Linked DNA regions of Homo sapiens: regions 2, 3, 4, 5, 6 and 7 are each linked to region 1. The links are contacts of gene promoters, found by promoter capture Hi-C in blood cells and fetal thymus (Javierre and others, 2016). All regions are on one chromosome and are shown on one strand. Each heading gives the region's core, a stretch centred on a gene start or on the middle of the fragment in contact. The rest is flanking DNA. Distances are from core to core; before and after follow the strand shown. Region 1 holds the start of RBM11 (RNA binding motif protein 11). Region 2 has its middle 270 kb from the start of USP25. Region 3 holds the start of LOC124905056 (a long non-coding RNA gene). Region 4 overlaps USP25 (ubiquitin specific peptidase 25). Region 5 overlaps USP25 (ubiquitin specific peptidase 25). Region 6 overlaps USP25 (ubiquitin specific peptidase 25). Region 7 overlaps LOC105369302 (a long non-coding RNA gene).

Region 1 (3,714 bases), core at 1,068-3,567:
ATGTTTTTGTACTTCAATCTCAACATATTTGAAACTGAATTCACCATATTTTCTCTAAATCTCAACTCTAGTATTAAAAGTGTAATGATAATAAATCTGATTTTCTCATTTCCAAGTATAATCAGAAATTTGAAAGAAAATAGTAAAAGGATAAATATACTGTAATATAAAAACCAATAAAATTGGTGATTTTTATACAGATATTAAATAGATGTAATCACTATGGGACAGAACATGCTTACGTGATTTGAATTTTGACATAAATTTAGATATTCAAAGCATTTGTAAAGATAAAAGTCAACATGAAGACTTACTTTTAGCAACAATCACACTATCTTACAGTATTTTTTAAATCACAATGAAATACATAGTGTGATAGTTGTCAAGTTTTGCTGGGTGTTGAAGTCTAAAGTGGAAGAGAAACTCCACTTTGGCAATTCCTTTCAATACCTAGACAAAAATAAGAACTTATGCTTCTTACCTGATCTATTAAATAAAATTTATATTTTGCTTAGGTGGAAGAAGGAACTGATAAAGAATGAGAAGATAATATATAGTCTTGTGGATCCACACAACTGATATTGATCGAGTCCTGATTGACTAAAAATAATGGTTATTGGATAATGCAATCCCACCCCAGTCTTCCACTCTCCTTTTTTTGGAGGCTCAAAGTGAAAGAAGTCTTCTGGAGAAAAATAACTCTAAGTTTACTTTATATTTCTTTCGGTTTTTGTTGTTGTTTTTTTTAACTTAATATAGTAAGTTTTAAATGATACTGAATGAAAAAACAGATATGGATTAGAGTTCATAAAAAAGGAGGCAAGTTTAAAAAGATGAATTAAAAGGATGAACCTAAAAGTCTTAAAATCAATAATATTTTTCAAATAATAAAAAAGTTTTACGTCCAGGAAAGGAAACTGTATTCCTGGAAAGAACCCTCTCTACCAAATTGTATCTACAATTAAAAGAGGGTTGCTTTAGTTAAGTTTCGAGACAAAAGTAAGTCCTTTCACAACCAAATAAAGGACCCCTTTGACCCATTCAATCCTGAAAATTTAGTTCTGTAATTGCCTCCCTCGGAACTTTCCCTTATTCTGATAGGAGAAAGTAACTATTGATTTCTCTTGATGTTAGTATTATTACTAATAATAACAGCAGTACCATTAGCAGTAGTAGCGGTAGCAAACAGCGAGTGCTAGACTCAGCTGTAGCCATTTTACCATTAGGCCACATATTCCGATAGCCACATTATACTGCAGATACTACTACTCTCTTTTGACATATAAGGAAACTGAAGCACTGAGGAATTCATTGACAGGCTCAGAGTCACACTGCTGACCTCAGAGTTCGCACGCGGAACCACTTTTCTATCTATGTCCCTTCTCTTTTTATAGATTATCGTAAACATTGTAATTTTAAGTTCTCCCTGTTAGGAAGATAAAAGGATGTCTCGTCAATTTGTTTTCCCAGCACCCTCAGTATTTGCCCCGTAATTCCGGATCATTACACGGTTAGGGGAATGGCTGAATGAGTGTATCTTTTTGGCAAGTGATACCTAGCTGTATAGGACAATACGATAAGTGAGCGTGTATACAGGACACAGCAGGCTTAATCCTAGAGGTACCAGATCTCAAAGTTTCCGAAGGTCCTCTTGGTATGAATTAAAGGGCCTTGTCCAGGGAATCACCTGGTCACAGTCACGGTAAGTTGGCTGCCAAATCATCTCAAATCTCACTTTTCATGCTGGAATAAAAATACTGTCCGCATAAAAGGGCTTGAAGGAAGGAGCAAGGTGTAAAAGGAAACATTATAAAAGCGACCCCTCTCCTTTTGGGGGATGTCAGGCGTGCTTACTACTTGACGGAGAACAGTGACCAGGCTGTTTTCGGTTCTGCCCGCGCACACCCGAGGCCCAGGCAGCCTCTGGGAAGCCCTTAATCAGAAACGGGGGTTGAAGGAACCACGTCCCTGCCCAACCCCAGGACTCTGCAGCGCGGATGGGGATGGGGAACGCGCCCTCATTTCACTCCCCAGCCGCTCACCTGGAGACAGGTGCGCCAAGAGGAAACGAAATTAAAACCCCTGCTCAGGATGGGACGGAAGGGGGCCGGGCTCCGGGTGGTCCAGGTGCGCGCTATGTTTCCGGCCCGACGTGCTCCGCCCCTCCGCCGCCCCTTCCCAGAGACGGTACCTGAAGGAACAGCTCGTACAGAATCTCTTCCCGAACTCGGGCCTCTAAATTCCCAACAAACACGGTCCTGTCGGCCTCCTCCTGAGCAGGGAACATCCTCCGGTCTCGGCCGTAGAATGAAGTAGGAGCTGAGACCCCGCCCCTTCTCCGGCTTTACGGCGCCGCCTGGGTGAGGGGGCGGGGCCGGCGCCGGGAGCGCGCGCTGGGGGCGAGGCATGGCTCCAGGGCCACGCCCCCAGCGGACTTGGGGTACCGCCCACCGCACTGCTCCCTCGCCTGGCGTAGGGCTGGGCGGTGGGAGAGTGGGTGAGAGTAAGAAAGATGAATGCAGAAAGGGCTTTACTCTTTAGCTAGTGGGGTGGCTTCCTTTTTTTCTGGCACATTAATTGATTTTGGATTTATTCAATCAACATTTTAAATAAAGTCACTGTAGAGATGATTTAAATTGTGGTAACTTCATTGCAGAAGCTCCCAGGCAAATGCGGGGAGATACATTTCTTTGGGTCCAAAGAATAAATGAACAAATCATGAAGATATTAAACTATAAATAATTTTTGAAAGAATCGATGTTTGCATGGATGTGGATACAACAGAAAACTAGAATTAAAGTTTATTTTCCTAGAAAGTGCTCCCTAGATGAGTTTTTGAAACTGGTCGCAGAGGTTTTAAGTGGACTCCAAAAGGAACTTGAGAAAGCAAATACCAAGGGATATACTGGTGAGAGTGAGCCAGTTTTGTGTCTAAGCCAGAATTTTTGAGGATGGCAGCTAGGGTTTGTGTCAGGATCCAACGGCTGTACTTTGTTTCAGGGCTATACTTTGTATATGGTGTACCAGGCTAAAGGCTTAGTTCTTTCTTGGGGATAATTTTTGTTTTTAATAAAAGTCTTATGAACAATAAAATTACAAGAAAGGAGAAAGAAAACTTAGAATCTCAATACTTTGATAAATCAGCTGTCAACTGTTAACTTGGCTTCCTTTCTGAAGCTACCATACGTCTACATAGGACCTTGAGATCATCTCATGAATATCATATAGGTGATCAGAACATTATTTGACCTTTAGTTTGGCATCGTGATAAAATTTCATTTTGAATTGAGGAAGCATGCTTTTATCTGGTTGATGGACCAAAAAAAGTCATCTTTTCTAATGAAAAGGTACACATTTTAGGAAATCCTAATTTCTAATTGATCTCTGACATTACATAGTTTTATTACTTTGAACAAGTAATTTCTCTTTGGAATTCGGATTCTGTTTCTTAAGGAATGGATTGGACTAAATATAGTTACTTCATTTAATAGGTATTTTCTGAATGCTTAATTCTTGGAAAACAAAGGGAAATATAAAAGTCTGACCTCCTAAAGCTTATACTTTGGGAGAGACAGCCTTTCTACCCTCACAAATATAATATAAATGCTAGTAACTTCAGTAGTTACCTTCAACTGATATAAGTCCTGTCTCCATTTTTTTTTTTCCTTTTTCTTTCCTCTATCATCAGTAGAGTTGCGGTACAGTAAGAAGGAG
Region 2 (4,133 bases), core at 1,231-3,730, 1.2 Mb before region 1:
TAGGTTTTCTTCAAAGGTTTTTGTGGTTTTGGGTTTTACATTTAAGTCTTTAATCCATCTTGAGTTAATTTTTGTATAAGATATAAGGAAAGGGTCCAGTTTCACTTTTCTGCATATGGCTAGCCAGTTTTCCCAGCACCATTTATTAAATAGGGAATGTTTTCCCCATTGCATTTTTTTTGTCTGGTTTGTCAAAGATCAGATGGTTGTAGATGTGTGGTATTATTTCTGAGGTCCCTGTTCTGTTCCATTGGTCTATATGTCTGTTTTGGTACCAGCACCATGCTGTTTCGGTTACTGTAGCCTTGTAGTATATAGTTTGAAGTCAGGTAGCATGATGCCTCTGACTTTGTTCTTTTTGTGTATGATTGTCTTGGCTATTAGGGCTCTTTTTCGGTTCCATATGAAATTTAAAGTAGTTTTTTTCTAATTCTGAGAAGACTGCCAATGGTAGTTTGATGGGAGTAGTATTGAATCTTTCAAATACTTTGGGCAGTATGGACATTTTCACGATATTGATTCTTTCTATCCATGAGGATGGAATGTTTTTCCATTTGTTTGTGTCCTCTCTTATTTCCTTAAGAAGTAGTTCGTAGTTCTCCTTGAAGAGGTCCTTCATGTCTTTTGTTAGCTGTATTCCTAGGTATTTTATTCTCTTTGTAGCAATTTTGAATGGGAATTCATTCATGATTTGACTCTCTGCTTGTCTATTGTTTGTGTATAGGAATCCTTGTGATTTTTGCACGTTGATTTTGTATCCTGAGACTTTGCTGAAGTTGCTTATCCACTTAAGGAGTTTTTGGGCTGAGACAATGGGGTTTTCTAAGTATAGAATCATGATGTCTGCAAACAGAGATGATTTGACTTCTTCTGTTCCTATTTGAATACCTTCTTTCTCTTGCCTGATTGCCCTGGTCAGAACTTGCAATACTATGTTGAATAGGAGCGATAAGAGAGGGCATCTGTGTCTTGTGCCAGTTTTCAAAGGGAATACTTCCAGCTTTTGCCCATTCAATATGATACTGGCTGTGGGTTTGTCATAAATGGCTGTTATTATTTTGATATTTGTTCCATCAATACCTAGTTTATTGAGAGTTTTTAACATGAAGGGATGTTGCATTTTATTGAAGGACTTTTCTGCATCTATTGAGATAATCATGTGGCTTTTGTCATTGATTCTGTTTATGTGATGGGTTATGTTCATTCATTTGCATATGTTGAACCAGCTTTGCATCCCAGGGATGAAGCCGATTTGATCGTGGTGGATAAGCTTTTTGATGTACTGCTGGATTTGGTTTGCCGGTATTTTATTAAGATTTTTGCATCCATAACTCACCTTTGTAACCACTCCTTTGTGTAGGATCTAAGAGAAGAAAGGAAAGACTTCAACCCACTCACCAGAAAGGTTCAGCCATATCTGATGTTTTGGAGGTGGCAGAGAGTGATCTCAGAGGACAAAGGAAAGGGAACAATGAGAAGGAACTCATCAAAGAAAAGGGGTGGCATAATCCAGTGGTCTGGAGTCAGCAGTAGGTCCTGAGTGGGGAGGGGGTTAATGGATGTGGGTATAGTTTGCCAGCTGATTACAGGAAGTGGACCAAACAACCTTATTTCAACAGGACCAAACAACCTGTTAGTTGAATGATCCATCAAAGAAAACATGATAACATTTGGAACTGAAGAAGCTTTGTTCTAGGAGCCCTGGCTGAGTATACTGGAGAAGGAACACTGTTTCTCTCACTTTGCATAGGTGGCAGTGAGGGTTTTATCCGTGAATTACATTCTAAGCATGGCAGATTTTCCAGGAGAAGAAATATCTTGCATTTTAGGCAGTGCTAGTTCTGATTTCAGCGACATGGAAAAATGCAAGAGACCCCATGTGGTGCAGGCGGGAAGGATAGCAATGAGAGGAGAGTCTCAGCCTGGAAGAGGCCTTGACCTTTAGGCCTGGAACTTTAGGATCCTGGCTCATTCTCTATGGGGGTGAGTGAGTGTGTGAAGTACTGGATGCCTAATCCTTGAGACTCAACCGAAATTGCCATTAGAAGCACTAGCTAAGCCTAATGTAGAATGGGTATCCTTTCTACCACCCAATTACCCTCCACCTTCATGACAGAGGCACAGGCCCAGTTTCACTGGCATGTTGCATGCGAGATTCCCCTTGTGGCCATAACGGCAGTGGCTAGGAAAACAATATTTTAACCTTGGAACAGTTTTTCCATGAATCCAAGGGCCAAAGATTGGAGAGTTCTGGGTTGCTAGCCCTAGCAGCAAGCAATAAAAACTAACAAGTGCCCCTGGAGATGTTAGAATACTTGGGTAGGGAAGCTACAAAACACTTGACTTCCTACAGTTAAACAGAAGGATAGTTTAGGAACAATAAATGTAGGATATTAACATCCATGAGACTATCTTTGTACTTAACTGGTAGGTGGAGTCCACAATGCTTGGACTTATTATGAACACTTATCATCTCATATGTTTATTCATTGACATATCCAGGAACATTTACTGAACATCTGCTAGATGCTAGACACTGTGCTGTCCTCTGGGGACACATTAGAAATAAGGTAGACATGATCTCTCATTTCCCTGGATGGAATTTGCAGTCTAGCTCTTGCATATCTCCAAGGAAACTTCACTATTTTAAAATCATCTTTTCGTTAATTTAAGGCAATGAAATCCAAGGATTTAAAAATAAAAACCTTGCAAATCTGTATAATAGTTAGGCATAGACACTACTTTTAGTGTGTAGAAATACTGATTTTTGCTATTGTTTCCTAAAATATGGTAGAGAGAAGGTGGAGCTCCTTTTATATTCTTGACTGTAGAATGTTCCTTCTTCTCCAAATGGGATGCTCATCTTCTCAATTTTTTTTCATGATTTCAGCATCCAGGAATGAATAGGACACCTGGCCAGCAAGCCAGATGAACTAATTCCACCCAGAAATCAAATGGATACCAGATAGCGCAGCCAAATGATCCTCTCATCCTAAAGGTTGATGTTAGATATTTCCAATTCAGGAGAGATAGGTCAAATAATTTTTCAGCTTCAGACTTTCAGAAAGAAAAATTGCTATTCCATTTTATGATAAATATATTTGCTTAAAGTACCACCCACAACATGAAATATAGCTTGGTCCTTTGGACCCTCTTTAATGCTATTACGTACATGTCAACACCTGCCATGTCAGGCATTAATAATGAGTCAAATAAAATAAATGATTATTAGCACTTAAGACATGTTAGATTTTGCTAGACAATAAGAAGCTTATCAACCCTACAAAGGGATAAATAGATTATATACAGTATGGTTCAGACTTTCAAAAAAATTATAATCCTATTGGGAAGGTAAAATTAAAACACATGAGACAAGACTAAACACAAAATATAAAGAAGTGTATAATGAAGTGACTGAAGCATTGGCAAGTGGTAAAGGGAATTAGGGAATATCACTAATGATTGTGATAGTCCAAGAAGGCTTTACAAACTAAATGGCACTTGTACTGAGTCTTGAGAAAATGTCATAGGTGAAAGTAAACAGGAATTTGCAGATAGGAGATAAACAAAGGTGTAGGTAGTGGTATAAACTTTCTGTGTTTATAGAGCAATAAGTAAACTGGTGTCACTGGAGGGAGAAATGAAATAAGATCACTAGAAGGGTGGATGCTTTAGGGAGGATTTGAAAGCTAAACAGAGATGTTTTAATGTGGGTAAAGAGTAATAAACCATAGAAGATTCTGTTGCAGTGGAAGCACATGCCTTAATTAGTGGCTATAGAAGAACTAATCTGAAAACTATATGAGGGCTTGAAGTGAGAAAGTTGAGTCAGGGAGACCATTAGGTTACCCAGCCACTGGCCAATGGTGTCATTTCTCCACATATAAAACTTTAGGCTTATCTATAGGGGATTTGTTGGCATGAACGGATAAGGTGTAAGTTAGAAAAGAGTAATTCAATGAAAATTCCAGAGATTGGGCAAGAAAAGGGAGAGGATTAGTTTGGGAAGTATGAGTTAGAAGGAGAAGAAAATAGGCACAACATCTACTATTTGGAAGACCCTGGTAACACAATGCTCTGTGTTGGAAAGATTATCTTGGAAATTCTGTTAATGAGCAATAATTAGAGGGCCT
Region 3 (4,168 bases), core at 428-2,927, 1.3 Mb before region 1:
ATGCTTGAATCTTTCCCTTTATTTAACAGTTTTAAAACAATTTATTGGTATCCTTTGGTGGCAGCTAATTTGTGTTATCAAAGTATCATTATAGACGGAAGCTTATGTGATGCACTTCAATCTATTGTAGTTATCATTATTGACACTCAAATTGCCCATCTTTAACGAGAGCCCTTGGAAGCTGACTCTTTAGTCCCCTCAGATCTGGGAGTGAGGAGATTAGGAGTAGAGGCCGACCTGCTCAGCTGCTCTAAATAGAGTTCCTCAGTGTTCTGCACTGATGTTTGTCCTGTATCTCTTCCACATAAGGTTGGGACACCCTTATGAAAAGAGGTAAAAGGTTCTCTCTTACCTCTTTTTCTCTCTTGTTCATACACTGGCCTGTGGCTTCTTTGTCTATCTGATACTGTTTAATTTCTGTTTTTATGCAAATCTTCCATTTCTGAATTCCTTATTGTTTCCCATGGCTGTTATTTATTTGGCCTTTTGGATGATGCTCTTTGTCCCTGGGGGAAAAGAGGTATTTGGTAAGAGTCAGGAATTGACGGAGTCTGCTGTCTTGATCGAATCTGAGAGATCTTTAAAAAATGTGAATTAAACAATGCTGCTTCCATGACTGAAACTCTAATGGCCCACACCTGCTACAGACCAAGTCCAAACTCTTTAAGGAATTCTGTTATCCTCTAAATCTTGCTTAGCCTTGCTTCTTGCCTGACACCTTCTGCCCCCATAATTTCAGCCATGTGAAATCTCTTGCAGTTTTCCAAACATGGCACACTGTTTCTCCAGCTTATTGTTTTCTGCTGACTATGTTCTTTCTGCCTGCTCACCTGGAGTACACTCCCTTCTTTCTCACCTTTGTCTCAACTTCCCTTCCTCCTTTAGGTCTCAGTTTAGATGGTATTTCTTCCATTAGGTCTTCTTTGAATAGGGTGCATATGTCTCCTACTTTTCCTGGGAAAGTTCTAGATTATGCCTGCTTAAAAATAATTAGTGCCTTTAAATTCTTTTTAATACACCTTTTCACTCTTACAAGTGTCCCTATTTGAATAATACATTATATAATCACTCTATCTCTGAATTTACATTTCCAGAACTGTGTTATATTTCTTTTGTATGGATTTCCATGACATTTTATAATTGCATCTAGCATATTTCAGGTGCAATTATACTTTCCTATTTACTTGCCTTTGTCATGGAAAGAATTGTGTCCGGCTCAAACTCATATGTTGAAGCCCTAACCCTCAGATGTGACTATATTGGAAATAGGTTCCTTAAAGAGGTAATAAAGATTAAACGAGGTCATAAAGGTGTCATCCTGAACCCCTATTTACTCCAATAGGGATGGCACTGTGTCTGAGAGGCTGAAGAAGAGACCTGGAGACAAGGAATAAGACACAGGGTTCTTTGGGGGAACTTGCTTTCAGGGACAGTCCAGTGGCAGCGAGCTGAACAGGAGAAGTGCTACCATTTGTAAAAAGCATGCAGTTCATACAGTATTTTCACACAGTACCATCCATCTAGCAATCACTATTTAACCCAAAACAAAGGGCCTCAATCCGCTGGACAGCCTGTGTTCTAAGGGAAAGGCCAGGGTTTCAGAACTCTGAACACACATTCTTCTTAGACTACAGGGTCATTCTCAGCATATGCTTAAGTTATTGCCGACACGTGTATCTGCTGTAGAAAACGTGAGTCCCTAATGCAATAGGACTAGTGTCCTTATAAAAAGAGGAAAAGACACCAGGAACGCACACAGAGAAAAGGCTGTGTGAGGGCGCGGAAAGAATACAAGCATCTGCAAGCCAAGGAAAGAGGCCTCAGGAGAAGCTAAACATGTTGATACCGCGAGCTTGGACTTCCAGCCTCCAGAGCAGTGAGAAAATAAATTTCTGTTGTTTAAGCCACCCAGTTTGTGATATTTTATTATGGCAGCCCTAACAAACTAACACAGACTTCTTCACTAGATTGGCTTAATTTTTATATCTGTATGATCAGAATATAAAATTAATTTTTATTTTATATCCATACGATCAGTGCTAGGTACATGGTGGGCATTGTATGAGTCAAGGTTCAGTATGACAAAACAGAGCCCTTAAGAATGAAATACATTTGATCTGTGTACCCAGTTACTGTCACCTAGTTCCTAAAACCATTGGAATTTCCTGGGTAATTAGAGTGTCTTTTGTTATTCATGGACCCCCTTTGATCACACCTGTATTTATCCTAATATCTCAATTTAGGATAGAGCCCCTGGATAGCCTCAAGATGCTGCCAGTTATCAGAAAGACCAAGGGATTAAAGAATTAAAGGGTTGGAACTTTCAACCCCACCCATTGACCTGATGGAAGGTGCTGGAGATTATAGCCTATAAAAACTCTTGAACGACGAGATTTAATGAGCTTCCTGGTTATTGAACATGTGGAGGTGCTGAGAGGGTGGCAAACCGAGAGAAAGATGAAAACTGTGACATCCCCTACCCCAGACTTGTAGCCATCTCTTAAATCTAGCTGTTCATCCATATCCTGTATATCCTTTAAAACAAACCAGTAAATGTAAGTAAAGTCTTTCACTCAGTTCTGTGAGCTGTCTTAGCAAATTATGGAACACAAGGAGGCAGACTGTGGGAATCCCAGTTGCTATAGCCATTGATCAGGATTACAGGTCACAACCTGGGCCTTGCAATTGGCATCTTAAGGTAGGGCGGCAGTTTTGTGGGATTGAGCTCTTAACCTGTGGGATCTGACTCTTAACCTGTGGGATCACACAGTGTCAGAATTGATTTGAGTTATAGGACACCCAACTGGTGTCTGCTAAAGAATTGCTTGATGTGTTGAGGGGAAAAAAAACCCACGCGTTTGGTCACAGAGGCATTCTGTGTTAAGAGTGAGAGTAGAGAGAAAAATGTGGTTTTGGTTTTGGTTTGCCTTTTATAAGAAAAAATTCCAACTGGCCTTATGTAATTTTGGAAGTTGCTTAAATGGTCTAACAGAGTCTATTGTCTTTGTGCCTGATTCTGAAGTCTGAATCAGGAAGGCAGCCACCTGTGAAGAAAAGACAAAGGCAAAGTGGTGAAGAGCAAGGAGAAATTGGAACCCACGAGAATGAGCTGGAACTCCAATGGATGAGTTAGAACTCTGTCAGTCTTTCCAAACCTCCAGTTTCAATGCTGAAGGGGTGACCTTCAATCAAAGTTTGAGCCCTTTGTCATGGAACTAAATATTCACCTGAACAGGGAGTTGAAGAAGCTTGTCAGAGAGTTGACGGGGTGTCCGATAGGAGCAGAAAAACTAGGAGTGGGATCTGCCCTATGCTATTATTGGGGCTTGGAAAATAAAACTGCAAAGATTGGCACTTTGACATGCTGAGAGGCCTTAGAAGCTGCCTCAGAATCCAGGTCCCTCTAATATTGTCTTCTTCCCCCAACCCCGCTTCGTGCCCAAGCACAAGAAGGGATTCTCTGGGATTTTCTGGGATTTTCTTATTTCACCATGAAATCTTATTTCCAAAATGAACAAGATTGCCTTCTTCCTCTCCCTGAAGTCCCCCTGTCTCTTTCAGAAAAGAAGACTGAGGAATGCAACTAGAATGGATTTTTCACAAGAGAATGCCTGCTTTTCTGGCTCATTCGAATTCCAAAGACAATCATTTACAAGTTAATTTCTGTCCATTTCTTCTCCTTAAGAATCATTTGCTGTCTCTGAGAAGCATTGTCCACATTCCCCATTCTCCCCTCTCCCCTGTGAAAAAGGATATAAGCTTCTGTACCTCATTGGGTTATTGGGTAATCATTCTCCTGAGAATCACCTGTGCTATGCATGTTAAAATAAAATTGTGCAAGCCTTCTCTGCTATTGTTTTGCCTTTGTCAGTTGATTTTCAGTGAAACTTCAAAGTGCAAATAGGTCATTTCCCTTTGGCTCCTACATCTTCAAGGCAAGCCAGCAGATGGGCGCAACGTACATGAGTTGCAGTGGTGCCTAGTGGACCTGAGCAAATCTTCCAACTATTAGTTTTATTTTTTAAGGCTGCTGTTTCACTTCTACTTCTCAGTTTTTGCAAATGTCATTTGTGGCCCATACTAACTTGGAATTATGCAGTGAAGGGAAGTCTGAAAACTGTGGTTACACCTTAGCTAAGTTGACATGATATAAATCCACCACAGGTAC
Region 4 (4,169 bases), core at 941-3,440, 1.6 Mb before region 1:
ACACACTGTGATAACCCAGAGTTGGAAGTACAAGTCTGAGAGCCTAAAGGCAGGATGTGTAACTGACTTGAAAGATGTGGCACTTAAAACTCAGGCTACAAATGTACACAACCAAGAGGAAAAGAGTCTTCTTTGGCTAAGCATGGAAATGTTGGACCGCTGTCTTGAATTTAACAAGATGCATGGAGAAGTATATTTTTTGCATTAACGATTTAGGCCTGCGTATACCTTTAGGGAACAAGATTTCATTAATACCATGTTGATAAATAATTCTTCCTCTTCACATTCCTTAAAGGCCATGTAAATAAGGAAAGTATCACTCAAAAAAAAATTCACCGAGTTGTACTTTTCAACATGTTTTATATTCTAATAAACATTTTTATATCTATTGAATAAACAAGGTGATTAAGAGACATTTCAAAAGCAAAAAAGGGTGATAAAGTTACGGCAAGTAGGGACACCATTATTATGAAGCAATGAAACAACTATTAAGAAAAAATTTTTATAATACAAAAGTATTACTTCAATAAAACCCTAAGGGTACTTTGATACCGACAAAATTTTTACAAAAAAAGAAATTTTAATGTCTTTTAAAATAAATGAAAAAACTTACACTAATCCCATAATTGTAATTATAATATGACCCTCCCACCTCTACACATATATACAAGCAACGAGTACTTTGAAAATATTTTGTTTTTATCTTCTGGCTTTTATTTTTGCTTATCATAGTAACTTTGTATTGCTTTCCTCTGAATTTCATTTTTACACAACAGAATCTTCTCTCCGTAAGCCACTATTATTTGGGGATTTTCTATAGTAGAAACTAGTTTTAACCATTAAAGTCAATTTGAAGAAGGACTCAAGTTAGTGTAGTGTAGCCCATTGCATTTTTTTTTCCAGATCAACTTTGCCTATTAACTTTTTCATACTGCATTCTTATTGGGTAGACGTTCACGTGGGATGATGGCCTGTGGTTGAAAGAGTTCCTATGACTGGGTTGGTAACTTCCTAATTCGGAGGTTAAACTTTAGCAAGTCCACTTACTCAGACCTAAGTTTCTTATAACAAGGCTGACAGTGGCATCACTATTCTTATCACTAGCAAACATTCAGAGTATTAAAAAGTTGGTCTAATCATAATACATAAGGAAATCCATATTCAGAAGTACCTAAACAGGCACAGAGTTAAAAAGCTTTCTTTCATAGCCAAAAAGCTAATGTAAAATAGACCCGACCAAGATTTTTTCAGGACGTGGCAGGACAGAAGAGATATTAAAAAAAAACAAAAACACGGCCGGGCGTGGTGGCTCACATCTGTAATCCCAGCACTTTGGGAGGCCGAAGAGGGCAGATCACAAGGTCAGGAGTTTGAGGCCAGCCTGGCCAATATGGTGAAACCCCGTCTCTACTAAAAATACAAAAATTACCTGGGTGTGGTGGCGGGCCCCTGTAGTCTCAGCTACTCAGGAGGCTGAGGCAGGAGAACTGCTCGAACCTGGGAGGCAGAGGTTGCAGTGAGCCAAGATCGCACCACTGCACTCCAGCCTGGGCGACAGAGTGAGACTTTGCCTCAAACAAAACAAAACAAAACAAAACAAACAACTTTTCCCTCAATTTATAATACACTAAGCACAAAAAAGAACAAAAATTTAAAAATACTATATCTAATTGAGGGGAAACAGGAAGACAGAAGCAGCAACCATATGTTAGATTCTATGGTGTGTACATATTTTATGAATTAATACTGAATGATGATGATGATTAGAATCAATCAAAAAAAGGAAGAATATTTAAACATGCCAATAACTATGGAATGAACCAAAAAAATGTGTTAAAAGATCTACCCCGCAAGAAGGCGCTAGGCTCGTATGATCTTACGAGTGAGTTCTAACTAACAGAACAGATCATTCCAACGCTAACACGGTTAAGTATTAAAAAAAACAGGAAAGCTCTCAAATTCATTTACCAAAGCTAACATAACCCTAATTGCAAACTTGATGAAGACAGCACAAAATAGAAAAACACCAAATTCATTTAATACAGAACGCAGAAAGCCCAAATAAAATGCTAATGAGTTAAACAGTAAGCATTTGAATTTAAAAAATAAAAATTTACTAAGAAAAGTATTTTAAGTAAGTAGTGGGAAAATTTATATAACTTTGGGTAAGAGTAGATCTTTTAATATGGCAAAAAAAATCCATAAAGTAGGAAAACGAACATACTATTTTAAAACCTGTTTAAGAAAAAGTACTCTAAACTAATTCAAATAGAAATGGTAGACTGGGAGAAAATATAGGACACATGTCCATAAAGAGGGTAAGATACAAGAAATGAGAATATATCTATAGCATGGAATACTGTGTGGGTGTACATGTGTGCATGTGTGTGTACATGTATGTGTACACGTGTGCGTGTACATGTGTGTACCTGTGTGTACACATGTGTACACATGTGTATGTGTGTATACAGACAGCTAGTAAAGATAATGTGATACTGTCTAAACTTTAAGCCCACAATAGATTTCTGAGTGATATAAGTTACAAAATATTATGAACAGTAAAATCTACATTAAAAAAATTTTAAGTCTCTGTATATGTGCATTGTTATAAACAAAAAGAAAAAAACAAGATACACAGTGCTAAGAATGGTTACAATAGGGCCATGGCAGTGGCAGAGACTGTCATTGTTAGTTTTATTTTAGACACCTCTATATTACTGAATACAACTGCATTTTGTATACATTACTTTCATTTTTTATACGAAAAAATTTTTAAGGTGACATATTATCAGCTAGAGTTGTGTCCAAATGCTTCTACCTTTACCAAAAACATGCATTAATTAGAAACAACTTGATGTATGTTTACATAAAGGGGTTACACTCATGTATTACTCAATCACAGATAGGTGCAAATGTACACAAACTTCAGAAATTTTATAAACATATACACACACTAAAGACATAAAAAGGTAGAAAGAGGGTTTTATGATAGTAATTATTAGGTTAAGCCAAACAAAACTGCTAATTTTGTTACTCCAAAATGGTACTGACAATTTCTAACAAATGAGTTAAAAAAATTCTATTAGCAAATAAAGGTCCTTGACACAGATATGGCACATTCATTTTTCTCATTTTTCATCTCCGACTATATGTGGACCAGAACTGGACACATAAGATAAGCTTCGTGATAATACTAACAACAATAACAGCTAAATTCTGAGCATTTACTATCAACCAGATACTACTTTAAAAGCGTAACATTGATACAATTTATTTAAAGCTCACAATGACTCAATAAAATAAATAGTTATTTAACACCTCGGGAAACTGAGATACAAAGATTGAATAATTTGCCCAAAATCAAAGCTAGAAAGCAGTCGGCCCAGGCAGTCTGGCTGCTAATATCAACATATAAACTACTTCCTTCCTAATGTACATTCCCACTATTCTTGTAAGTGTTTTTCCAGCAGAAAAAAAAAAGCAAGAAAGGGAGTATGATGATAGTAAGGAGAATGGTTAGTGAAATAGAAATTCTGTAGTAATTATTTTTAACATCTGACAAAGAGCACAGTTTCCTTATGCTATGAGTAAAACGTCAAATTCGACTCAATCTCCAAAGCAACTTGAAAACTTTTACCTCAGATTCACTGAAGTTTATTAACCACAGTATTTATTTAGATTATGTGCTGAGAGTTGCAATATAACATAACTTATTTAAGAAAATGCTCTGTCCCTCTTCCACAAACTTGATTCTTGCCCATGCTTTCTTGCTGTACTATCAAAATCATAGAGCAAACCAATAAAGAAAAATATATGAAATATGGAAAATACACAAAGGAAAGGATGCAAAGGGAATCCCCAGAATGATGGTGAAAGGAGATCTCAAGTTACTAGTTATGGATCAGGAGAAAAGAAAAACCAATACAGATTGGGGCAGGTCATAAAGCTCCAGAATAGATGTCCCAAGAAGATAAAACTGGTAAAGGCAGAATGAGAGGAGATTTAAACAAGCAGTGGACAGCTTTGAACTAAATCAGTAATACACATAAACTAAGCAAACCAAAAAACAAAACAACTAAGTTTAAGGAAAACAAAAGTTAAGGGAAAAACAGAAAGTAGTAATATTTATAATATAACTCAATCACATATAGCATACATAATAATATTAC
Region 5 (4,162 bases), core at 1,610-4,109, 1.5 Mb before region 1:
CCAAGTTTTCTTTTCTTTTTTTCTTTTGGATGAAAGGCAATTTCATTACACAATAATAAACTTCTTTGCCAAAGCTTTATTTGGAAGCAGGGGGAAAGGGAAGGGAAATTTTATTAAATGGTAAACCTATCAGTAATTAGAAATAATACTTTAACCTCAAAAGAAATACTAAAGCCTCTACCAGCACTTAAAATCTGCAAAATAACTGTGCCCACTAAAAATTCTAGTTCTTCCTTTTATGAATATATCTGCAGCTATTCCATATTTCAAAACAATAAATTCTATATGAAATGCTCTATGAAAAACTATATAACTTACATAAAATCTTTTCCTTATAATCTGAAAAAGATAATGTATGTTCCTTTCAACTACATTAAAAAGAACCAAGGTTAATAGAGTTCTTTTTTGGTTCTTTACCTCTCCTTAAGCAACATTAATATATTACACCAAGAAAAGTTTTTCAGTATGTTTCTATTAAAATAATAAGAAAAGAAAGAAAACTTACTTGTATCTGCTTGGCTTCCCACACTGATGTATCTATCATTGCCAGGAAGTGCTGTTTGGTAGTAAGTTGTCTCCTCCTGCTGAGGGGTCTTAGCATTCTTCGCAGTAAGGAAAGCCACTGCTAATTCCAAGTTTCCATTACTATCCTTCAAATATCAAGAAAGGAGTATCAAGTGTTTTGAAATAATTTTATCCATCAAAAAAAGTTATACAATATTCTCCATAACTCTCTAGAACAAAATTGCTTTAAATTTGCAATTAATCTATATGTGATTCTAATTTTATAGTGTAAATGCATCATACATAAAGTATACTATATCAATAGTAATACCTTTCTTACTAATTAAAACTACTGATACAATGTAAAAATCCATCTCTAATTTCTTAGTCTTCATTACTTTCCTATCTGCTTAATAAAAGTGAATCACAAACTTATACTTTTGAACAAATAAACTAAAAAAGGTCTTCTGGAACTTGCCATACGAAAGAGTGCAAAATGGGTATTAAAATTAGTACTTCTACAAACAAGGACAATAAAAGATATTCCTTTTAATCTGGGTGCTGGATACATACTTAGGGGCAAACTTAAGCAAAATGTCAAGGACTCATGGGAAGAAAATGGCAAAATGTACTGAAGGGCTTGATAATATGGAATTATGGAAAGACACACAGAACTCTAGACAGAAATACTCAATACTGTCAAGATGACAATCCTGCTCAAATTAAATAGATACATTTTGCATAGTTCTCATCAAAAGTATAGCTGAATAAAATTATTCTAAAGTTTATTTAGAAGAAAGCAGATGCCAGAATAAGAATTTTAATTTAAAACAGCAAAATGAGAAGAGACTTGCCCAGTTACATCTTTATATTCTCTGCACAACTGACAGCAAGTAAAACGTTAGCTCTAAAACAGTTAACCAAAACAACATAGGAAACCCAGATATTCACAACGAAGCTATCTTTGTAACAGAAAACCAAAACATGGAAGGCTCTGTAGGTTCCCTAAGAACTTAGACATGCACACGGGTGTAATAAGAAGCCAGTGGAGTGTTTTGGAAAGGAATGACATAGTATGACTTACATTTTAAAAAGTTTACTCCATGTATTAAGAATAGACTAGAGGAGAGAAAGGGCAGAAGACAGCATCCAATATTATTGCTATCTTATTAAATGTGGGACATGACAGAAGTAGGATCAGGATGATTCCAAAATTTAAGGACTGAGCAGCTGGCAGAATAAAGTCCCCAAGACCTACCCCAATTCCAGTTGTAGCAGTCAGTGACAAAAGGAGTAAGGATGCAGTTTCAAAGGCACCACCACTTTCAAAAATGCTATCTGTCATGATCATTAGACGATTCCTAAGTGACTCATCCAAAATGTAAGATACACTATTGTTAAATAAGTAATCTAACAATAAAATAAAGCGCAATAATGATGGCTAACATTTATTGAGCACTTACTATATGCCAAGAAATGTGCTAAGTGTTTTTCATATATTACCTCATATAATAATTTAAAACAACACAGCAGGAATTTACACAAATTGAAGTTCATTTACTTTTTAGAGCTAAAAATATGTTCTCAAATTAAAAGTACTGAAATTAATCAATGACATTACAGTGCTCAAAAGTAGACTTCTCGTCAGTATTTATAATGGGCAACAATTAAGGTTTAAATACACTCTTTTCCCCTAGCTACTGGTAACTGAAACAAAAATTTTGGAAAATTAAAAATACCTATGCTCACACAACCTCTATCAAAGGAAATGTGGATAAGACTTCATTCGAGCTACATATTTTCTAAGTTTAAAAAAAAAAAAAAAAGCAAATTCCCCAAATTTACCCTGGCAAGGTGATAGGCTATGGTCTCACACTCAGTAATACATAATGAAAAAGGCAGTTTCTGAAAACAAACATGGAATTTAGTAATGATATTTATCAGAATAAAAAGGGACTAGCAATTATCTAAACGTCATAATCATAAAAATTGAGGTATAGCACTTCTGCTTCCTCTCCAAATACTTACAGTGGCTTCATACACCCCGCATTAATGCTCTAAACACTACTATTTCATGATTTTCCTGATGGGGGAATAAGGTGAAGCAAAGCTTCTAGTAAAAGAAGCATAAATTAAGTGTGGCACCTGGGATCAGGCTGCCTTGGTTTCTATTCCAAGCTTCTCCACATACAGGCTGTGTGATCCTGGGCAAGTTACTTTAACCTCTCTGTTGCTCATCTTTTCATAAAGGGGATGAAACTAATACTTATCTCATAGAGTTATTTATTATTAGGATGAGCTAGCCCACATACAGTACTTAAAATACTGCCTGGTAGTACTAAATGTTTAATCGGTACTACTTATTGTTATAATGACTTTTATTATAATCATCTAATAGATTATTTCTAAAAACAAATAAAGAACTCTAGGCTTGAAATCAAGTTCCAAAGGATTGGAGCTGTGTATATGACTGCAGTGGCAAAAATGCTATATTGTTTTTAGCCTATAGTAGTAATATGCAAATAAGCTTAAAATACTGTACAGTTCTGGTTCTTAAATAGCTTTCATTCACTCTTTTTCAATGTGAGTATCCATATGATATGACTCATTTGGATGTCGATGTGAAACTGAAGGTCCAACTAAGATATGACCAAAATGATACATTTTAGTTGTTGCCTATACTGAAGAGTTTGAAATTGAATGTTTAACTTAGGGTGTAATTAGCTGAATGGGTGCAAATTTATATCTCTGCTTCTCAGGAGAAGAAAAATGTAAGTTTTCAGACTTCTATTAATTTTCTACTTTTCCCTTCTCTTACACCTCATCCTCTAATACACCCCACCTTGAACCCTCATTTAAACTCTAAAATCACAGCTCGTAAGTAAAACCATCCATTAGAATTAGGATTCACATCCCACTATCTTGCACAAAAAGCATTTCATATATAGAAAGAGGTTATCTGTCACTCTAAGGTATCATGGACATCAGACTGCTGAAAGCTAACATCCTCAAAACCGCAGTGTGTTAACTGAGGATTTTACTTTACAAAGTCCATTCCTGTATCTCTAAAACTACCACATGGTATACCCCAAAAAAAAAATCAACTATCAAATATAATACGCACTAGAGATGAGCATATACCACAAACTGTATATCATAAAACAGAGGCCATACCTTCAAGGCTTGCTGTAGTATCTGGGTGTCATTAATCCCCGTAATTTCTCTCAGTTGATTCAAAAACGTCTGCTGGTGCTAGAGGGAGGAAAAACCCAAAATCATTATATTCTCAACTCTGAAAATATACTAGGAAAAGAAAACAAATCACCTTTGGTTTTCCAAAACAAACAAAAAACAGAATAAAGTAAACTAGAGTAAAAAAGGAAAAAGAACTTGAGAAAGGCCAAACAACTTCATTCTTTTAGAAAGAATGAATCATGCTGTGGAGAACCCTTATTTCATTCTCACGTTTCGAAAAGGTAACTTCTCTACATTACTCCCCAATAAGTCTTACTGAATTAGCAGTTTCTGTCCTTTTCTTCATCCCCTCATTTATGCCACCTAACAAGAAAAGGGGCCTTATCCATGATGGTAAGCACAAGGAGAGAAACACCTTTGGAAAAGACATGCTTTCGGCAAGACATAACTCGGTGGGTAATTA
Region 6 (4,187 bases), core at 1,424-3,923, 1.6 Mb before region 1:
TCAAAAACTAGTATAAAATTAAGAATTAAAGGGAAAATGCAAAGCTCAAAATAGACTGCATTTCAAATAGAATTTAAACTATGAATTATTACCACTCAGCCAATCATATTACTTAAGAATTACTATTGCTTAGCAAATAATTATTATCTACAAAACTTTTTAAAACTCAAACAAATGCTCAGAAAAACAATGATGAAAATATTTGATAATCCATCATAGGTAATGGTCTCAGATTTTTTTTTATCTTAAGAGTAGAAGTGACAGAAAATACAAAGCCAAAGCCAAGTTTTTTGTTGCTGTTGTTGTTTGTTTTTTTGAGACAGAGTGTCATGCTGTCACTCAGGCTGGAGTGCAGTGACACAATCTCGGCTCACTGCAACCTCCGCCTTCCGGGTTCAGACGATTCTCCCGCCTCAGCCTCCCGGGTAGCTGAGACTACAGGTGCCCACCACCAAGCCCGGCTAATTTTTTTGTATTTTTAGTAGAATGGGGTTTCACTGTGTTAGCCAGGATGGTCTCGATCTCCTGACCTCATGATCTGCCCACCTTGGCCTCCCAAAGTGCTGGGATTACAGGCATAAGCCACCGCGCCCGGCCATTTTTTTTTTTCTTTGCTACTCTAACAGTGATGTAATACTACTTCTGCCACTATTGGAAAATACCAGATGTTTGATCACTTAAAAAGTAAAACTTTTCACAAAATGTAAACAACTCATAATCATGTTAACCTTATTAGCTCAAAATAAAATGAAAATTGTTTGTCATATGAAGAAATTAAGTAGACTTAAATATGCAATTATGAAAATTAATATAGCAAGATCTTAAAAACAATAGAGTATTCAGAAGAATTACTGAACTTCTACTACACACACAGAAAAATAACTTCATTTTTTTAGTCAGAAGTGGACTGCCTAGCTGATTCTGAATGACTAAATATAAAAAGATTATTTTTATCAGTTTCAATAAACCTTTATTATTTTCTATATGCAAAGCATATATCAGAATATCAGCATTAAAAAGATTCAGACATAGTATGACATGATCTCTGGCTCTGAGCAGATAAGAGAGAAATGTGCAAGACAAGTCATCACACAGTTCCAATACACAACAGTAAATGCCCAGTAGACAGATGCCAGGACAGCATAAGGAGAGATACTTTTTGGCAGATCAAGAAATAGTTTGCAGGGGAAATGACACCTGAATTGAATCTTGACAGATAAACAAGAATTAGGCAAAAGAATTACTAGCAAAAAATAAAACATATACGAACATGCAAACATAAATGTGTGAAATGGTTTGATATGAGCAGATACAGCAAGAAGTTCAGTAAGGATATAAATTCAAAAGGAACACTGGTGATCAATGAAGGTGGGGAGATAATCAGAGGCCAAGAACAGAGGCCATATATGTTAGGCTAAGGAATTAAATATTAAATGTGAGTCAATCTGTGGAACAGTCACTAAAGCATTTTTAGCAAGGACGAAAAAGGTCATATTTACCTTTAATAGTTGACTTGGAATACAAAATATATACGAATTCTTAGCCCTGACGACATTACTTTTCAATTCAGTCTTGTCAAAACCCAGTAGCATTTCCTAACCACATCCTTCATCGTCTGAGTGAATTACACTTAACTAATCACACCACATACCAGAGCCACTTTTATGACTATTTAAAAATACACACCACCCTATATATTCTTACCTTGTATTAGGAACTGTGCCTTATCATTTATGTACATTAAACAGTATGCACTGGCATTTCTATAACCACCAAAAGAGTCCCTCACTAGCTCTTCCCATGATGATTTTGTCACAGCAATATCATTGTACTTCATCCATCTGCTTTCACGATGATCAAAAATATATGCCCAGTAGTGCCCAGCATTAGCTTGGCCTTCGTGAACTAAAACGGCATGTAATCGATAAGGAACCTAAATGTGAAAAAAAGAAGAGTTAAACTGCAATTATGTAGTTTACTATATACCACATTCCATGAAACCCACAAACAACCTGTTTGGAGAAAACCATAAGAGCATTTTTTTTTTTAAATGAGAGAGAACTGGCTGGGCTTAAAAGTTTGAAAAAAACTAAACTATAAAACTTTAAAAAGACGGAATCTGAATAAGCTAAAGATATGCAAAGTTGATAGATTAAAAAGATGATTTTTGAAAAACTAAAAATGTATTTATTGTGTACATACTCATTGGCCTAATTGTTTATTTGAATAAAAAGCTTATAGTGGGCAGTTTTACATATAGCAAATGTGTCTACATCTTCAGAATTCTAAATTGACGGTTAACAAAATAGATTATATGATATACACCAGAAGTTAAAATGTAATGGAGTCCTTAAGTTTCTTCCCAAATCTTAATATCCTTTAACAACCATAGATTTTCTCCCATAAGACTTTTTAAAGATGCTATAGCCTTTTGAAAAACTTTGGTAGATTTTACTGTAAAATAGTAAGGGTACACAACACATACGGTGTGAAAATACAACTGAATGGGGAAAACTTGTCATGAATTTTGTTATAAATTTGTTATAAAAGTTTCCCCATTCAGATGAACTGTCACATTGTACATATTGCAAGCCCTTATTATTTTACAATAAGATTTGCCAAAATTTTAAAACAAAACATGTAAAGAAAAATTAGATTAAGATAATGTAAAGGTAAATTAAAATATATGTAAATAATTTTGACAATGATTACTAGCTCAAAATTTCACTTACTTGTATCATAGATTTGTCAGAGTACATTAATTCAATTGTTCGATGGATTCTGGATATGCTTTCCTGCAAATCTAAGGATATAAGGTGTCATTTAATGATTAACAGCAAATGTGTTTCTACTTATAAGATAAGGACTAATGTTTTTCCTACAAACATGTTAGAGGAATAGGAAAATTTTCCTAAAACTTTTCTTAAAAAACATTACCATTTGAAATCTGTAGAAAATGAATTATAGTTATTCTTAATAAAAGACACAGTACAAATGCATACTTTAAAAACAACACAAATATGATTTATCTAGAAAATGTGCAGAGCCAATAAAAGTGAATTTTGTTCAAATCTATAAAGGAGAGTTTCAATGAAAATGAAAGCTAAGCTTCCTTACATATTGCTATAACACAAGTAAACTTAAGAACAAAGTAAAACATGTTCACCACATATCTTGTACACACACATAACTGAATAAAAATCGACTATAATCACCAGTGAAAATAAAATTATGGCACTCCCATGACAATTATTTCTACTTCTAGTAGAAAATAATCCTACAAAATTGTTCAGATAGGGATGTTCACAGTCATATTGTCCACAATAATTTTTAAAAAAGAGATAACCTAAATATCTGTCAATAAGGAAACGGTTAGATTGTAACCACATCATATTGTGAAGCTGCTGAACCAATCAGGAAGAAACCTTGAAAAACTATAAAAGAAACTGGCTAACTTTAGAGTGGGGAAAGACCTGTCTTAAGCCTGTCAGAAAACTAGTAACCTTATAGGAAAAGATAAGATCCTCCCTGCCCAACACTTTAAAAAATCTACATTATAAAAAGAAAACAAAACCAACATAAAATCAAATGAAAAACTGGGAAAATAATATCTGCAGCATATGTGATATTATAGGTAAAGTGTTAATATCCACAATACATTAAACTTTCTATTAAGTAATAAGAAAAATACAAATAGCTCAATACTTAAAAAATGGGCAAATGTCACAAACAAGAAATTTACAGAACAATATAAATATCCAACTTCACTCGAAGCTAAGGGAATGCAAATCAAAACACTAAAATACCAGTTTTTCAATTGTGAAAAACTACTAAAAAGTGTCCAGGGCTAGGGAGGATACTGGGAGACAGGCTCTCTCACACAGTGGGAATGCAAACTGGTTTAATGTTTTGGAGTGACAATTTTAAAACAGTCGTCAAAATTTAAAATATACACACTCTGAACCAGAAATGGTGGACATAAGGAAACAACAGATATTGGGGCCTACATTAGGGTGGAGGGTGGGAGCAGGGTGAGGATGGAAAAACCACCTATCAGGTACTGTGCTTATTACCTGCATGATGAAATAATCTTACACCAAACCCCCAAGACATGTAATTTACCTTTATAGCAAACCTGCACATGTACCCCTGAACATAAAAAAGAACATATCCTACTTACAGAAGTG
Region 7 (3,760 bases), core at 648-3,147, 1.4 Mb before region 1:
AATAACAGCCCAATCTAGGGGTAACCTGGGTGAAAAGCCAAACACTTAACTGAATTGGTTGTCCTTTCAATCTTGCCTTTCATTCCCAGGGTGGTAGAAAGGTATTCAGATGTCTCCATTATGTTGCTTAATCTTGCTGGCCAAAAAGGCTGAGGGTTCTCATTAATTTAATGGGAAGCTGCTAAGTCCTTACCATTCTCACTATGGAATGCACCATGGTCAGCACTATCTGTCATTCCCAATTTATTATTGTCTGATAGCTAACATGCTGCTGCACTTGACCATCTTAGGGAATCCATTCTCTCTTCGTACACTTTGGATAGAGTTATTTCAATATAAAAACAGCACATTTTAAATGTCAAATAATAAACAAACATGTTAATGATTTTTTAAATAATTGTTTTCTTTGAGAAAAAGAATTTGTTGGAACATAATCCATATGACATTAGAATGTAGTTGAGACACTAAGCTTTCTTTTTTAAAGTTGTGAGCAGCTGGGAACAGTGACTCATGCCTGCTATCCCAGCACCTTGGGAGGCTGAGGCAGGCAGATCACTTGAGCCCAGGAGTTCGAGACCAGCCTAGGCCACATTGTGAGACCAAATCTCTACTAAAAATACAGAAATCAGCCAGGCATGGTGGCAGGCACCCATAGCCCCAGCTATTGAGGAGGCTGAGAAGTGAGAGGATTGCTTGAGCCCAGGAGGTCACAGCGGCAGTGAGCCATGATTGTGTCATGGCAACTCAGCCTGAGTGACAGTGTGAGACCCTATCTCAAAAATAATAAAATAAAATAAAATTAAAAAGTGTGGGCAATGTCCCTAATTTGCAGTTTATGGATTAAATGTTAATTTAAAGAATACTTACAACATATACCTATTCTCTTAGAGATTCCATTATAACTCAAACTAAAATATTCTATGTAACTAGATGGTTAACCTCAGTGAAAGATAAGGAACATAAGGCTAAGAGCAGTTAAATCATCAGGCAGAGGTAACACAGCTGGTCAGGTGAATGGAGCCCAGAACATCTAATTCCTCAACTGGCACGTTGTTTTTCACTATGCCAAGTTGTTCTTGCTAGGAATTCTTTGGATGCTGGTTCACCTGGGAGATTGAAGGGATGAGCCAGATTGCTCTCATACCTTGGAGTTCCAGGTGGAGATGGGGAAGGAGGGGGAAGAATCCCTAATTTGAGCAAGTTTTATAAAGAGGATACCATTTGACGCCACTGTGTGTTGAATAAACATGGAGATAGACCTGGTCCAATGGAAAGATTATGAATGTTTCCTTGATGGTTACTTGATCACTTGACTCTTAGTTTTCCTAAGAATAAATAGGAAAAAAAACATAAGCCTTGGGAAGTTGTTTAAGGGAAAATTGGGTAGACTATGTAAAGCATCTAGCAGAGTGATTTACTCACATTTGATGTTTAGTTAACATAAAAACTACTTTACCAGGCTTCTAAGGCAATTAACCATTTAAACCAAATTTGAATTAAAGCTAGGCATGGGGTAAGAAAGCAAGAAGTAAGAGAGACTTGGAGTCTGGTGTACTCTAATTAAGTTAAATGTGCAAAGGAGAAAAAGTGTTAATCTTTTCCTTACCTGTTTCAATGTTCCCAGCTAAGGCACCTGTAACAAAAGATAGATTAACAAGAGAAAAACAAATCTATTTAATATAAGTTTTGCCTGACATGGGAGCCTTCAGAAATGAAGACCCACCGGATACAGTGGCTCACGTCTGTAATCCCAGCACTTTGGGAGGCAGAGGCAGGTTGATCACTTGAGGTCAGAAGTTCGAGACCATCTTGGCCAACATGGTGAAACCCTGTCTCTAATAAAAATACAAAAATTAGCTGGGAGTGGTGGTGCATGCCTGTAATCCTAGCTGCTCAGGAGGTTGAGACAGGTGAATCTCTTGAACCCAGGAGGCGGAGCTTGCAGTGAGCTGAGATCGTGTCATTGCACTCCAGCCTGGGTGACAGAGCAAGACTCCTACTTGAAAAAAGAAAAAAAAAAAAAGAAAGAAACAAACAAAGTAAAATAAGAAATGAAGACCCCAAGAAACAGGGAAACTCGTATATTTTTATGCTTAGGTAGGAGGAAGAGTGGAGAGTTGTGCAGAAGTGTAATTGGACTAACAAGGTATGATCTAATGGTAACAAACCCCATCTTAGCAAGGCCTGTTTGCTCAGATTCTTCTCTGTGTCCCTCTGACTTCAGAGATAAGAACATTCTTTCCCTCCAGGTACAAGGAGGGCACCTCAGGAAACAGGATTTTATGATCTGCTTCACGGGAAAGTCAGCTGATTTTATTCTCTGCTACAGGAGAGAAGGTCAGAGAATTATTTCTACATTTTATGGCCTGCTTCAGAGGAGAAGGGGCAAGGGGAAGGTGAGAGTGACCTTCATGTTTCTACTATTTTCTCAAATGTCAAGATGCCACATCCTGGGTTAGTGTGTCCTGAACTCCATCAAATGCAAAACTTTAAAAGTTCAGGAACATACCAGTGTACTCTTTTGTTTGTTCAGGAAATACAGTGCTGTTTAATAAAGTTAACGAATCATAGGCCATCTAGTCTGTGTTTCCGAAGCATTCTCTCTCACCTTGGAGTATTTCAATCTTAGCAATTGCTAGCATCTAATAGGATCATCTGCAGAGGCACCAGAAAAGACTTCTGAGAGCAATGCTTTTAACTGAGACTTCTTTCTTGAAATTTAGATTGTTACATCTTTTTCCCCTTTGTGCTCTAGTTGCAGTCAAGACAATTTTCTTTTGTCCTGTGATGGTATTTTCTGCATACTATTGATCTGAGGCAAATAGTATCTGAGAAAAGAGAGTTTTCTTAGGCTATCGTGCCTTTCATCAAACAAGATAAATCATCAAATGAGCAAATTTGAGGTCTGTCTGGTTGTTATTCTTCACACAGTTTTGCCATGTGGATAGACATTGAGAGAACATGTACTCCACTGGTCTTTAGAGAATTAACAACAATATATTCTCGAGTAAATGTAGGCAAACTTGCCTTCCTGGTATTAGTGAGGCTCCTGGTAAACATTACTGAATAAGACACAGTCATTATCCTTAGGGAGCTCACAATTTAGCACTTGTTTATTGAACTACTGAAACAATTTATAGAACTGAGTTGTTAGTCAAGAAAATGAAAAAGGAGCTACAAACCAGTGTTCACAGAGAAGCAGATTTCCTGCTTTTAAAAAGCAATTCCATATACAAACGTTTGCTGCAATGTAATAAACAAGACTATTGGAAGAGAAAGAAGTAATTTAACTCTTTTTTTTTTCTAGTGGTCTAATCAAGCTTCCACCTAAAAAGAAAGTGTAAACTTTCACCCTTTACAGGAATTTAATTTTCGCTTAAGCTATCCGTGTTGCTTCTTTTTCCTCTTGGATCATACATTACCTCAACTCCAAGTTTAGATAGACAGGCTATTAGAAATCTGAATAGAATGATTTCCTTCGTTCCTTCCTTCCTTCCTTCTTTCCTTCATTCCTTCCTTCCTTCTTATCTTCTTTAATTGTTTTTAATGATTATTAAGGCCTGAAAAAGTCAGAAATGAATTAACACATACCACCTGATTTTATGTATGGTGAGAGAAAAGGAGTGTGTTAAATGTTTCAAGAGAGTATTTACAAAGAGCAATGGGAATACAAAAGAGAAAGAGAGTAGATTGAAATTTGAGTGATTTGTAAACTGGGAACAAAAGCAGATCTTTTTTTTTTTTTTTTTTTTTTTTTTTT

What was found. The method cuts DNA at HindIII sites, captures the fragments that hold promoters and counts their contacts. A CHiCAGO score of 5 or more calls a contact.
Region 2: a fragment that was not itself captured here is called in contact with the fragment with the promoter of RBM11 in region 1 in 1 of 17 cell types (total B cells); the score reaches 7.1 in total B cells.
Region 3: a fragment that was not itself captured here is called in contact with the fragment with the promoter of RBM11 in region 1 in 4 of 17 cell types (monocytes, megakaryocytes, M2 macrophages and 1 more); the score reaches 11.0 in monocytes.
Region 4: a contact is called between a fragment that was not itself captured here and the fragment with the promoter of RBM11 in region 1, in 3 of 17 cell types (M0 macrophages, M2 macrophages and naive CD8 T cells). The highest score is 9.3, in M0 macrophages.
Region 5: a contact is called between a fragment that was not itself captured here and the fragment with the promoter of RBM11 in region 1, in 1 of 17 cell types (total B cells). The highest score is 5.7, in total B cells.
Region 6: a fragment that was not itself captured here is called in contact with the fragment with the promoter of RBM11 in region 1 in 6 of 17 cell types (activated CD4 T cells, naive CD8 T cells, naive CD4 T cells and 3 more); the score reaches 8.8 in activated CD4 T cells.
Region 7: a contact is called between a fragment that was not itself captured here and the fragment with the promoter of RBM11 in region 1, in 6 of 17 cell types (total B cells, naive B cells, M0 macrophages and 3 more). The highest score is 9.0, in total B cells.

Annotation. Positions count from the first base shown.
Region 1 is chr21:14,214,760-14,218,473 of GRCh38, reverse strand. It overlaps RBM11 (RNA binding motif protein 11), which reads right to left and starts at 2,317. Exons shown (of 5, transcript NM_144770.5): 1 at 2,192-2,317. The coding sequence starts at 2,287. RefSeq lists a silencer at 2,271-2,500. The HindIII fragment of the contact is 12,542 bases long and covers 1-3,556 here.
Region 2 is chr21:15,459,740-15,463,872 of GRCh38, reverse strand. No RefSeq gene overlaps it. Among named protein-coding and RNA genes, the nearest start is that of USP25, 270 kb to the left of the region's middle. The HindIII fragment of the contact is 1,585 bases long and covers 1,688-3,272 here.
Region 3 is chr21:15,559,588-15,563,755 of GRCh38, reverse strand. The region is part of intron 2 of LOC105369302 (a long non-coding RNA gene); the gene reads left to right. LOC124905056 (a long non-coding RNA gene) reads right to left here and starts at 496. Exons shown (of 2, transcript XR_007067935.1): 1 at 353-496. The HindIII fragment of the contact is 3,147 bases long and covers 104-3,250 here.
Region 4 is chr21:15,851,569-15,855,737 of GRCh38, reverse strand. All of the region lies in intron 20 of USP25 (ubiquitin specific peptidase 25), which reads right to left. Among named protein-coding and RNA genes, the nearest start is that of USP25, 120 kb to the right of the region's middle. The HindIII fragment of the contact is 1,985 bases long and covers 1,198-3,182 here.
Region 5 is chr21:15,762,485-15,766,646 of GRCh38, reverse strand. It overlaps USP25 (ubiquitin specific peptidase 25), which reads right to left. Exons shown (of 26, transcript NM_001283041.3): 2 at 3,679-3,756; 3 at 506-650. Among named protein-coding and RNA genes, the nearest start is that of USP25, 35 kb to the right of the region's middle. The HindIII fragment of the contact is 349 bases long and covers 2,685-3,033 here.
Region 6 is chr21:15,829,147-15,833,333 of GRCh38, reverse strand. It overlaps USP25 (ubiquitin specific peptidase 25), which reads right to left. Exons shown (of 26, transcript NM_001283041.3): 15 at 2,733-2,803; 16 at 1,705-1,933. Among named protein-coding and RNA genes, the nearest start is that of USP25, 100 kb to the right of the region's middle. The HindIII fragment of the contact is 874 bases long and covers 2,237-3,110 here.
Region 7 is chr21:15,585,741-15,589,500 of GRCh38, reverse strand. The region is part of intron 1 of LOC105369302 (a long non-coding RNA gene); the gene reads left to right. Among named protein-coding and RNA genes, the nearest start is that of USP25, 140 kb to the left of the region's middle. The HindIII fragment of the contact is 2,851 bases long and covers 472-3,322 here.